Regions from separate parts of the Homo sapiens genome. Here all the other regions are linked to region 1. Evidence: promoter capture Hi-C in 16 types of primary human blood cells and fetal thymus (Javierre and others, 2016). All regions are on one chromosome and are shown on one strand. The core of a region is centred on a gene start or on the middle of the fragment in contact, and the rest is flanking DNA. Distances in the headings are between cores, read along the strand shown. Region 1 holds the start of GPR155 (G protein-coupled receptor 155). Region 2 overlaps ATF2 (activating transcription factor 2). Region 3 overlaps ATF2 (activating transcription factor 2).

Evidence for each region. The method cuts DNA at HindIII sites, captures the fragments that hold promoters and counts their contacts. A CHiCAGO score of 5 or more calls a contact.
Region 2: a fragment that was not itself captured here is called in contact with the fragment with the promoter of GPR155 in region 1 in 4 of 17 cell types (naive CD4 T cells, non-activated CD4 T cells, naive CD8 T cells and 1 more); the score reaches 7.8 in naive CD4 T cells.
Region 3: a contact is called between a fragment that was not itself captured here and the fragment with the promoter of GPR155 in region 1, in 1 of 17 cell types (naive CD8 T cells). The highest score is 5.3, in naive CD8 T cells.

The regions. Positions count from the first base shown.
Region 1 is chr2:174,485,094-174,488,730 of GRCh38, forward strand. GPR155 (G protein-coupled receptor 155) reads right to left here and starts at 1,936. Exons shown (of 16, transcript NM_152529.7): 1 at 1,780-1,936. It overlaps GPR155-DT (GPR155 divergent transcript), which reads left to right and starts at 2,295. Exons shown (of 3, transcript NR_183819.1): 1 at 2,295-2,323; 2 at 2,942-3,637. RefSeq lists silencers at 1,451-1,633, 1,897-2,076 and an enhancer at 1,487-1,556. The HindIII fragment of the contact is 1,758 bases long and covers 960-2,717 here.
Region 2 is chr2:175,160,561-175,164,197 of GRCh38, forward strand. The region is part of intron 1 of ATF2 (activating transcription factor 2); the gene reads right to left. Among named protein-coding and RNA genes, the nearest start is that of MIR933, 5.3 kb to the right of the region's middle. The HindIII fragment of the contact is 8,086 bases long and covers 1-3,637 here.
Region 3 is chr2:175,131,631-175,135,267 of GRCh38, forward strand. The region is part of intron 3 of ATF2 (activating transcription factor 2); the gene reads right to left. Among named protein-coding and RNA genes, the nearest start is that of MIR933, 34 kb to the right of the region's middle. The HindIII fragment of the contact is 1,643 bases long and covers 721-2,363 here.

The DNA.
Region 1 (3,637 bases), core at 686-3,185:
AAAAAAAGAGGGATGGGATGCGTCATAAATTTATCAGTTTTTGTTTTATACCAAACAATTAAGATAAGTTGAATTTAATTTGGTTTGATAGTAAATGGTTAACAGTGAAGGCAGAGCTCTTCATTTTTCTCAGGGTGATGGTCAAATAGTTGTAGCAATGTCCAAGATTAACTTTCAATTCGTTGAAAAATTAAAAAACAAAAAAACAAAACAAAAAAAAGGGCCGGGCGCAGTGGCTCACGCCTGTAATCCCAGCACTCTGGGAGGTCGAGGCGGGCGGATCACCTGAGGTCGGGAGTTGGAGACCAGCCTGGCCAGCATGGTGAAACCCTGTCTCTACTAAAAAGACAAAAATTAGCCGGGCTTGGTGGCAGATGCCTGTAATCCCAGCTACTCGGGAAGCTGAGGCAGGAGAATCTCTTGCACCCGGGAGGCAGAGGTTGCAGTGAGCCGAGATCCTGCCATTGCCCTCCAGCCTGAGCAACAGAGCAAGACTCCGTCTCAAGAAAAAAAAAAAAAAAAAGCAATCTGCCCCTCCCCATGAGGTTTCTTTTAACGTTTCTCAGTATTATAAAAGAAATACCTGCTGAGGTAAAGTCAAAATAATCAAAATGACTTTAAAAGTTTCATTTCATCCTAATCTTTTTTAAACGGGAAGATAATATGCTTTCTAAAGCATATTTTAAAATGAACAGGAACCACAGCAAGGGAAGTTTTAAAAAAAAAATTACATCCAGCCTTTTTATCTATAAAAACAAAGCTTGTTACAGAACAAACACGTTCACAGTAAAAGACCACTCGCTGAGGCACGAACTGAAGAAATGCTACTGTACTTACAAACCGCTTCTAGCCACATCACATTTGGCTTAGATCACATAAACGAACCACTGATACTGTAAATAACTGCTATTAAGTGAAAATGCGGGGGGAAGGCGAGGGTTGACTAACTTCATAGAGAAAGCTTTAAACTCTCAGGCTATTTCTCAAACATCCAACATCCTTTATCCCGTGGGATAAGTGTAATACAGTGTGGTACTATTAGAGCACTCTTCAACATTAATAGTCGCACCATTCACCCACTCCTACCTACTTGCAGGGCGCCAAATGTCCTCCCTAGAGACCCAGGGTAGGGAGCGCTGAGCACTGCCTCCTTGCCTCGTCTGCAGGGACAGACTGTGGCCCTCCAAGATAAGGGGCGCAGAGAGTTCCTAACCGAATAGGCTGCTCGGAGAGCAGCTGCCAGCCAACCCCTGGGAAGGCAGCTGTGGAAGTGGAAAGGCAGCCAGGGGTCTTTGCCTGGCGTAAGAAAAAGGTGGTCGCTAGTCTTCCCAGGGCACGGGAGTCACAACGTCATGGTAACTAACATACCCCAAAAACGGGTAAGGGAGAAAATTTGGCGCAGTGCTCCAGGTGCCTGGGCAGAAGCCTTCGGAAGGGCCAGATACTGAGGGTACCCTCGGGATAAAGGGAAGAGTCTAAGAAAGACAGGGTGGACGCCCGTGCAGTGAGGAGCTTCCCAAACTAGGGATGGCAGTTCTGTCTCCGGAGGGGACGAGACACCCCCTCCCCCGCGCGAGCCTTCCCGGGTGATCTCACACGTTCCACAGGCAGGCGCTGCGGGGCAGAGACAGCAGGTCCAGACAACGGGCCGCGGGGCCAGGGCGCAGAGGGTCGGCGGCTGCCCACGTGCCCAGGCCTGAGGGGCAGAGGCAGGGGTACCCCGTGCCCGCAAGGGAGAACCAGGACCCAGCAGGTCCGCGCTCCAGGGGCCCCTCTCACCTGCTTCGTCTGCAACCTTGGAGTGGCGAGGAGAAGGGAGCTGGTGCTCGCAGGGTGCCAAGCAGGGAGAAGACCACCGTCATCTCCCGCCCCCAGCCCTCTTCGCCGAGCGCAACCGGGTGCCAGCTGCAGCAGCTTAGGCACGTTCCGATAAAGTAAGGTGGGGTAAGCCGATGCGGCCCTGTCAGCTCAGCCCCTCGCCGGCCGCGAGGCCCCGCCCCCGCCCCGCCTTCAGGCCCCGCTCCCTCCCAGCCCCGCCTTCAGACCCCGCCCCCAGCCCCGAACTTCCAGCAAGACGGGCCGCTTCCCGCCCTCGAGCCCCGCCCATTTCCAGGAGCCTTGAGCCCAGAGTCTCCGTCCCGCCCTCAGGCCCCACCCACAGCCTCGGGCCTCCGAGCCACACGTTCCCCAACCCCGCCTTCAGTCCCCGCCCCCTCCTCCAGCCTCGGAGCCCCAGGGTACCCGGCCCCGCCCTGCCGGCTGGGAGCCTCCCAGCCGCGATCCTCCGGGGCGGGACTTCCGGCTTCCCTGCTCCCACAAAATGGTAGCCGCCGTGGGGGATGTCCAGTTTTTTTTCCTCTTCCCAAGTACAGACGCAGAGCAGACTTGTCTTTCCGCTTAACCTCAACCTCGTGTGATCTGCCAGTTTCGCTCCCGGTTAGCCCAGGACTTTTTATAGCATAGAGTTTTAAAGCAAGGGCTTAGAATCAGACCTGGGTCAAAATCCTGCCTTCCACCTTCACCAAGGCAGTGTGACCTTGACGTTCCTACATAAGAGATTAAAATGTAAACCCTTAGCCCTGAGCTTGTTTTAGAATCTGGGCCCCGTCCATGACTGCTTCTATTCTATTGCGGTACGGGGGTGGGGTGGGGGTGGGGAACTACATGCATGTCCACTCAGTATACTGAAACTGGTTACATTGATGGAAAACTTCCAAAGCTTCTTGAAATAAAGGTATTGAAACTATCCTCACAGGGTTTATAAGAATTCTGGACAAAAATATAATTAAGCATTAATCAGGCTACACTTTGACCCACTTCCTTGTAACCCGAAAGTCGGGTAGAGCTAGATAGTACATTTGTATCCCGTTGTCCCTATAGATAGGCTTTCTGATGTTAAGAGTCGTAAGGCTTTTTAAGAATTGCTTAAAATGTTTTTCAGACGCCAAATTCCAGCGAAACAGCTGATGCCAGCCAGCTTGAAGACCCCTGCCACAGAAGAAGGGAATCAGCATGAGAATACAGCTTCTTCATCTCGCTGTCCCATGACTTCGCCCTGTACTCTTCAGCCAATTAATGATCTCCACACTTGGGACCACTCTAAAACCCTTAAGAACCTGAGACTCAAAGTCCTCCTGGAGACGAATTTGAGGTTTCCTCCTATCTGTGTTTGGTGGCCCTATGATTAAACCTCTTTCTCTTCTGCAACCTGGTGTCCCAGTGTATTAACTTGCCATGGGCATCAGACAACAAACCTATATATAGTATCCCAAATATGGTGCTCCACTTTGAAACCTGAAGAAATCCTGCAATTGAGTTAGCCTTTTGAAATAAAAATTATTTCAAATTTTAAAATATTTATATATGTTTCCACTTAAGATATCTACAAGCATTTGTTTACAACCTTTTATCTTGCTTTGCATCTTAAACATTTCTGTATGGCAATTTCCGTGTCTTCCTATCATCTCGGCCATCTTAGTGCAAAGATACAAAATTGTGTGGCTTATTAAGAAAAATTACAGTAAGCTAAGGGTAGGTTAAAGGATCTGAAACTTAGCAGGAAAAATGAGCAGAAATTAAAGCTATAAAAGGCATGGATCCTGCTCCAGTTCTCTTTGCTTCTCCTTTGTTCTCTGTC
Region 2 (3,637 bases), core at 783-3,282, 680 kb after region 1:
AATGATAAAATATTTCACTGATTCTCAACTTTGTGGCCAAAAATTGATAGTGTAGTTATAATTGTATAATTAGCAGAGACTTCAAAACAACTTTAGAACTGTGGTATTTTAATCATAATCTCAATCCCACTATGGGGAAGGAGAAATGAAAGGTTTCCCTAGAATGTTTATAATAGGATTGGTGGAGTAGAAGAAAAGAATAGTTGGGGTGGGGAGCAGCCTGTAATCCCAGCACTTTGTGATACTGAGGTGGGAGGATCGCTTGAGCCTGGGAGTTTGAGACCAGCCTGGGCAACGGCAAGACCCCATCTCTACAAAAATTTAAAAACTAGCTGAGTGTGGTGGCATGTGAGTGTGGTCCCAGCTATTTGGGAGGCTTAGGTGGGAAGATCTCTCGAGCCCCAGAGGTGGAAGCCGCAGTGAGACTTAGTCGCATCACTGCACTCCAACCTGCATGACAGAGTAAGACTTTGTCTCAAAAATACAAAGATAATTGGATTTTATGAAAATCACAGTATCATAATTTTATCATCTTAAAATAAGGATATGCTATACTGAAGGAATTTGATACAGAAAATGTCTGAGAAGGGGTACATATGGAACAAAAAAATATGAGACATTCTCTCAAATGAATTTACGAAAATTCTAAGGTGGCATGTTCCTCCACAAATTATAAATTCTTAGGGAAAAATAACTTTGTTGCCAAAGCTACCAAGTAGATGGTTGCTGTACTGCTTTCAAGCTACAGCACAAGCATGCCTGGAGGGCTAGGCTAGATTATTTCTGAATGAACTTCAATAATAATTCCCACAACACAAACTGAGTACTCATTAAGTTCTTGACACTGTATTAAGTATTGTATATATATCACATGAATGCTCACAGCAAGACTATGAGTTAAATTATTCTCCTTAAAGAGAAGGAAACTGAGGCAGAGAGGTTATATAATTTACTCAAGATAACACAGTAAGTGGTAGACCCCTGATAATCTGGCTTCTAATAACTATCCTAAAATATTGATTACACACTTAACTATGTGCCAGGGACAAAACTCAGTCAATTTGGCTATCATATACTCATATACACTTTCTTTATTCCAAGTGTTTCCTACATGGAAATGAATTTGTCATTATAAATCTTAATAAATCATAATGACACATTCATAAGACAGAACTATGAAATGTATAGTTCAGAAAGTAACTCTTTTTTTTTTTTTTTGAGACACCGTCTCGCTCTGTTGCCCAGGATAGAGTGCACTGGCGTGATCTTGGCTCACTGCAACCTCTGCCTCCCAGGTTCGAGCAATTCTCCTGCCTCAGTCTCCCGAGTAGCTGAGATTACAGGCACCCGCCATCATGCCCAGCTAATTTTTGTATTTTTAGTAGAGATGGTGTTTTCTCACATTGGCCAGGCTGGTCTCGAACTCCTGACCTCAGGTGATCCACCTGCCTAGGCCTCCCAAAATGGTGGGATTACAGGCATGAGCCACCATGCCCAGCCCAGAAATTAACTCTTAAACTAGCATTAAAATACTCAGTGTACAAACCACATAAAACTGCATGAAATCTAAGAATTATTGTTACCAGTCTGTCAAAAGTTTTGGTAAACTTTAAAAGAAACAAAGACAGTAAAATGTCAGAAAATATGAAATACACAATATTTGTCACATCACATAGATCACTGGTAGATAAATAACTATAGTATGATATGGCCAACTAAATAATTTTAAAACTGCTAAATAATACAACTTATTCCCAGAAATAATTCCCAATTAGGTAATCACGCTTCATTAATCATAACTCCCAAGTTCACAAAAGTATGGCAAAGCTAACGCATTCATGCTCTGCTGACAGTGTAAACTCGCTCAAGTCTTTGGGGAGGCAAAAATCTGGCAACTGTAGAAACATTTATATCCTTTGACTAGTAATTCATTTGAGATTAGTATCCTATAGAAACAATTCATAAAAGAAAAAATGCACAGAGATGTTCAATTCAATGTCAAAATAGGCATAAACTGAAAACTATTATTTTCCTGTCAGGCATTTAGAACAAATTTAATACTTATTTTTCAACTATCAAGTAACAATCAAATATCATAAAGGTTATACAACATGGAAAAATACAATGCTATAAAAGTAAAATAAAACTTATTTGATATAATTCTGTAAAAACTGCAATATATATGCACAAACTAGAAGAAAACAAAAATAATGAACACAATTATTTGTTAGTATGGCAAAACAAGTTGATATATAAAAAAATTGTTCCGACACGTTTAATAAATAAAAGCAGGCTGGGTGCAGTGGCTCATGCCTGTAATCCCAGCACTTTGGGAGGCCGAGGTGGGCGGATCACAAGGTCAGAAGATCGAGACCATCCTAGCTAACACGGTGAAACCCCGTCTCTACTAAAAATATTAAAAAATTTGCCGGGCGTGGTGGTGGGTGCCTGTAGTCCCAGCTACTTGGGAGGCTGAGGCAGGAGAATGGCATGAACCTGGGAGGCGGAGCTTGCAGTGAGCCAAGATCGTGCCACTGCACTCCAGCCTGGGCAACAGAGCGAGACTCTGTCTCAAAAAATAAATAAATAAATAAATAAATAAATAAATAAATAAATAAATAAATGCAAGCAAACATACTAGCCCGAACAGTAAAATTAGAAAAACCAAAGCTATAACATTGGAGCAAAGCTAAAAAAATTAGAATGACAAAGGTTTCGGTTCTGCTAGCAAACTAAAGAATATTTAGGGAATATATTTATAAACTTATGGTCAATATTATAGATAAAAATACTATATATTACAAAAATAACCAAAGTCCATATGGTATTTTGCCAATTACAATTATTTCTCCCTGTCTTTCCCTACCAGTCTTGTTGAGAATCTCTGTGGTAATAAGCCACTACTACTGTTGGAAGTATTTTGTATTCCTTGGGTAGAAAGGCAAAAAAGTGGCTGAGAACCACTATCTTTGTTAAGATACAGAATGCAAATATGGGTGAATAGGCAAAGCCCCCAAAACATTGTTTACATCTCTTCTTTACTGTCAATGTCAAAATGCCAAGGAAAAAAAATCAATAAACATACTTAAAAAATGAAAAATGATGCTGGGTGGTGGCTCATGCCTGTAATTCCAACACTTTGGGAGGCCGAGGCAGGTTCGAGACCAGCCTGGCCAACATGGTGAAACCCCGTTTCTATTAAAAATACAAAAATTAGCCAGGTGTGGTGGCGGGCACCTGTAATCCCAGCTACTCAGGAGGCTGAGGCAGGAGAATCACTTGAACCTGGGAGGCAGAGGTTACAATGAGCTGAGAGCGGCACTGCACTCCAGCCTGGGTGACATAGCAACTCCGTCTCAAAAAAAAAAAAAAGAAAAGTGAAAATGAATACACTAGTTTCAAGGTTGCCAACAAGAATAAATTGAAAAGATATATATAATGAATACATATTTATTTATAATTATATAATATGTAACATTAAATACACCTGTAACACAATGTGTAAAAATAGGCCCGGGTGCAGTGGCTCATGCCTGTAATGCCTTAAAAGTGAAAATGAATACACCAGTTTCAAGGTTGTCAAAAAGTCTCAACAAATTGAAAAGACACATATAATGAATACATATTTATTTATATT
Region 3 (3,637 bases), core at 292-2,791, 650 kb after region 1:
AGTGCTTCTTAAATGTTTACAAACTAAGGAATACTGATATATAAATTTTTAAGTAAGAGCAAAGTATTCTAACAAGATTGGCTGTAACTGACCACTAGTAAAACTTACTAAATAATGAGTGAGAACAGTATGGCACCGCAGTTCTCAAACAGGATCCTCTACACTCTTAAAAATTTAGGCTCCCAAAGAACGTTTTTGTTTATGTACTATCAATACTGACCACATCAGAAATTAAAACTGAGAAATTCTAAAAATATTAATTTATGATTTAAAAATAACAATGAACTCACTGCATGTTAACACATATTTTTTAAAACAATATATTTTCAAAACAAAAAATTTAGTGAGAAAGGCATTATTTCCCACTTTTTGCAAATCCTTAACATCTGGCTTAACAGAGTATAACACAGCTGAATTCTCCTATGTGCTTCTGGTATTCAACCTGTTGTGATATCATCATGTATCCTCTAGAAAATGGCATCAAATCCTTGTGAGATAATGAGAATTTTAAAAAGGTAAATATTTTAGTATTATTATAAAAATGTTTTTGACTTCACAGACCGCTCTCACATTATGAGAATTCCTGGTACAGGCATATCTCATTTTATTGTGCTTAGCTTTATTGCACTGTGCAGATGCTAGTCTTAAAAATACACGTAAATCTCAGGGAGAAAGCAGATGCTGCAGATTTTTTTCGGATACTCTTTATCAGATTAAGAAAGCTTCCTCCAATTTCTAGTTTCCTGCGAGTTTTAATGATGAGTAGACATTGAGCTTTATCAAATGCTTTTTCTGCATCTATTCAGATACTATTTTTTTCTCTTATTGTTTTAATGTGGTATATCACACTGAATGTTGAACAAACAAACCAGAATTTCTTAAATAAATCCTCCCTTTTGCTCGTATTTTAAGATGTTTACAATCTATGTCATAAGAAATAACCTTGCCAGGTATCTAAGTTCAGTGGCTTTATAAGAATTGGGTCATGTTAATTCTTTTCCATTCTCTAGAAAAATCTGCATAAGATAGGTACTAATTCTTCCTTAAATGTTGGAAGAATTCACCAGTGAAGCTATCTGAGCCTGGAGGTTTCTCTTCTGGGTGGTTTTAAGTAATGAATTCAGTATCTTTAAATAGATACAAACCAAAATTATTATATCAGTTTTGTTCTTCAGCCAGGTGTGGTGGCTCATGCCTGCAATCCCAGCACTCTGGGAGGCTGAGGCAGGTGGATCACTTAAGGTCAGAAGTTCGAGACAAGCCTGGCCAACATGGTGAAACCCTGTCTCTACTAAAAATTAAAAAATAAGCTGGGCATGGTGGCACACACCTGTAGTCCCAGCTACTTGAGAGAGGCTGAGGCATGAGAATCACTTGAACCTGGGGAGGTAGAGGTTGCAGTGAGCTGAGACTGTACCACTGCACTCCAGCCTGGGCAACAGAGTGAGACTCTGTCTCAAAAAAAAAAAAAATAAATAAATAAAATAAATCCCAGTGCTTTTATGTATGTGTAGAAACTGAAAAATCTGTAACAAAATGCAAAAGACAATGAATAAACAAGGCAGTCATGAAGAATTGTAATTAAGCTAGAGGACTTTTATTACCAGATATCATGACCCATTATAAAATTACAATAATTAAGACACTGTGGTATCAGTCCAATGATAAACATACAAAGAAATGGAAAAGAAGGAGTACAGAAATGGAACCACACATAAGGCTACCTGATTTGTACAAATGCTCAACTGCAGTTAAGTGGGAAAAGGATGGTCTTTTCAATAATTGGTTCTAGAAATTTTATATAGCAAGAGTACTTGACTCAACTAATAATAATTATGTAATATTCCCTTGACAACAGTAGTTTATCAGTGCTTTAGATCAATGTTTCCCAAAGCATGGTAGCTATCATGGAAAAAAGATTTTTAGCCAAATAAATTTGGGAAATGTTGAATGTGTAGGCTTCATTTCACAGGACTTTTCGTGACCTTAATGTTATGTCAATTAAGGATTCATAACTTTAAAAAATGCCCCATGAATTCTATCTCACATTATACTAAAAATTAAGTCACAGTAGATCATAGACCTAAAAGTGAAAGGCAAAGCATAAGTTTCTAGAAGAAAAATAGGAAAGAATCTTCATGATTTTGGAGTAGGCAAAGGTTAAACAGGACACAAAAGGTCCATAAAAGAAAAGATTGATAAAACAGATTTTACTCTACATAGTGCATTTTATTCTGTTTAAATTATACCTCAATAAAAAGCAAAAAAGGAGCAAACAGTTATTTAACCTAATACTAGGAAAAAGACAAAAATTATACAGGTAACTACATCCAGAGACAGTGTGTTCCAGGAAACCTTACAGAAGCTTTGAGAAGGACACAAACTATAAAAAATAATTAAAAATAAAAGAATATGTACAGTCAGCCCTCTGTATCTATGAGTTTTGCATCCATGGATTCAATCAATCTTGGATCAAAAATATGTGAGAAAAAACTGCATCTGTACTAAACATGTACAGACTTTTTTTCTTGTCATTATTACCTAAACAATATAGTGTAACAACTATTCACACAGCATATGCATTGTAGTAGGTATTAAAAGTAATCTAGAGATGATTTAAAGTATACGGGAGGATGTGCATAGGTGATACACAAATATTACACGATTTTATATAAGTAACTGGAGCATCCTCAAATTTTGGTATCTTCAGGAGATCCTGGATCCAATCACCCACAGATATTGAGGAACAACTGTATATCTAAAAAAAACGACTGATTTTCACAGGACTCTAAGTAGAAGTGGAGTAAGAGATTGAAAGAAAAGCCTGGCATACAGCAAACCAGTAAGGGCTTGACAGACAAGTCATACAACCCAACAACTAAGAAAATGCACTCATCTGAAAACTGGTTTAAAAAAAAAAAAAAAAGAAAGAAAGAAAAAAGATCAGTGTGTTTAATCTGCCTTTTGTGCATAAAATGTATTTCCAGTAACCAAAGAGTTGATGAAGGAAAAGTCTTTTATAGAATTTCAACAAGTGCAGAAGAATAAAATAATTAGAAAATTGCCACTTTAGCTGGGTGCAGTGGCTCATGACTATAATCCCAGCACTTTGGGAGGCTGAGGTGGGAGGATGGCTTGAGCCCAGGAGTTCAAGACTAGCCTGGGAAAGACGGCGTGACCCCATCTCTACAAATAATTTAAAACAGCCACTTGTGGTAGTGTCGTGGTAGCGTCATGGTGGTGTACACCTGTAGTCCCAGCTACTCTGGAGGCTGAGGCAGGAGGATCTCTTGAGCCCAGGAGGTCCAGGCTGCAGTAACCTGTGATTGTGCCACTGCAATCCAGCCTGGGTGACAAAATAAGACCCCATCTCTTTAAAAAAAAAAAAAAAAAAAAAAAAAAGACCATCCTGGCTAACACTTTCGAAACCCCACCTCTACTAAAAATACAAAAAATTAACCAGGCATGGAGAAGGGGGAGGAGGAGGAACAAGTGGAAGAGGAAGAATACCACCACTTTAATCCCTAATGAAATAATGGATCTGGGCAACTATCATCAATGTCTGATTTTTAAAACCATTAGGAGAAAAGTTGATAGGAACTTCATAATGGTTGGACCAGGCTGACAGCATCTGAAT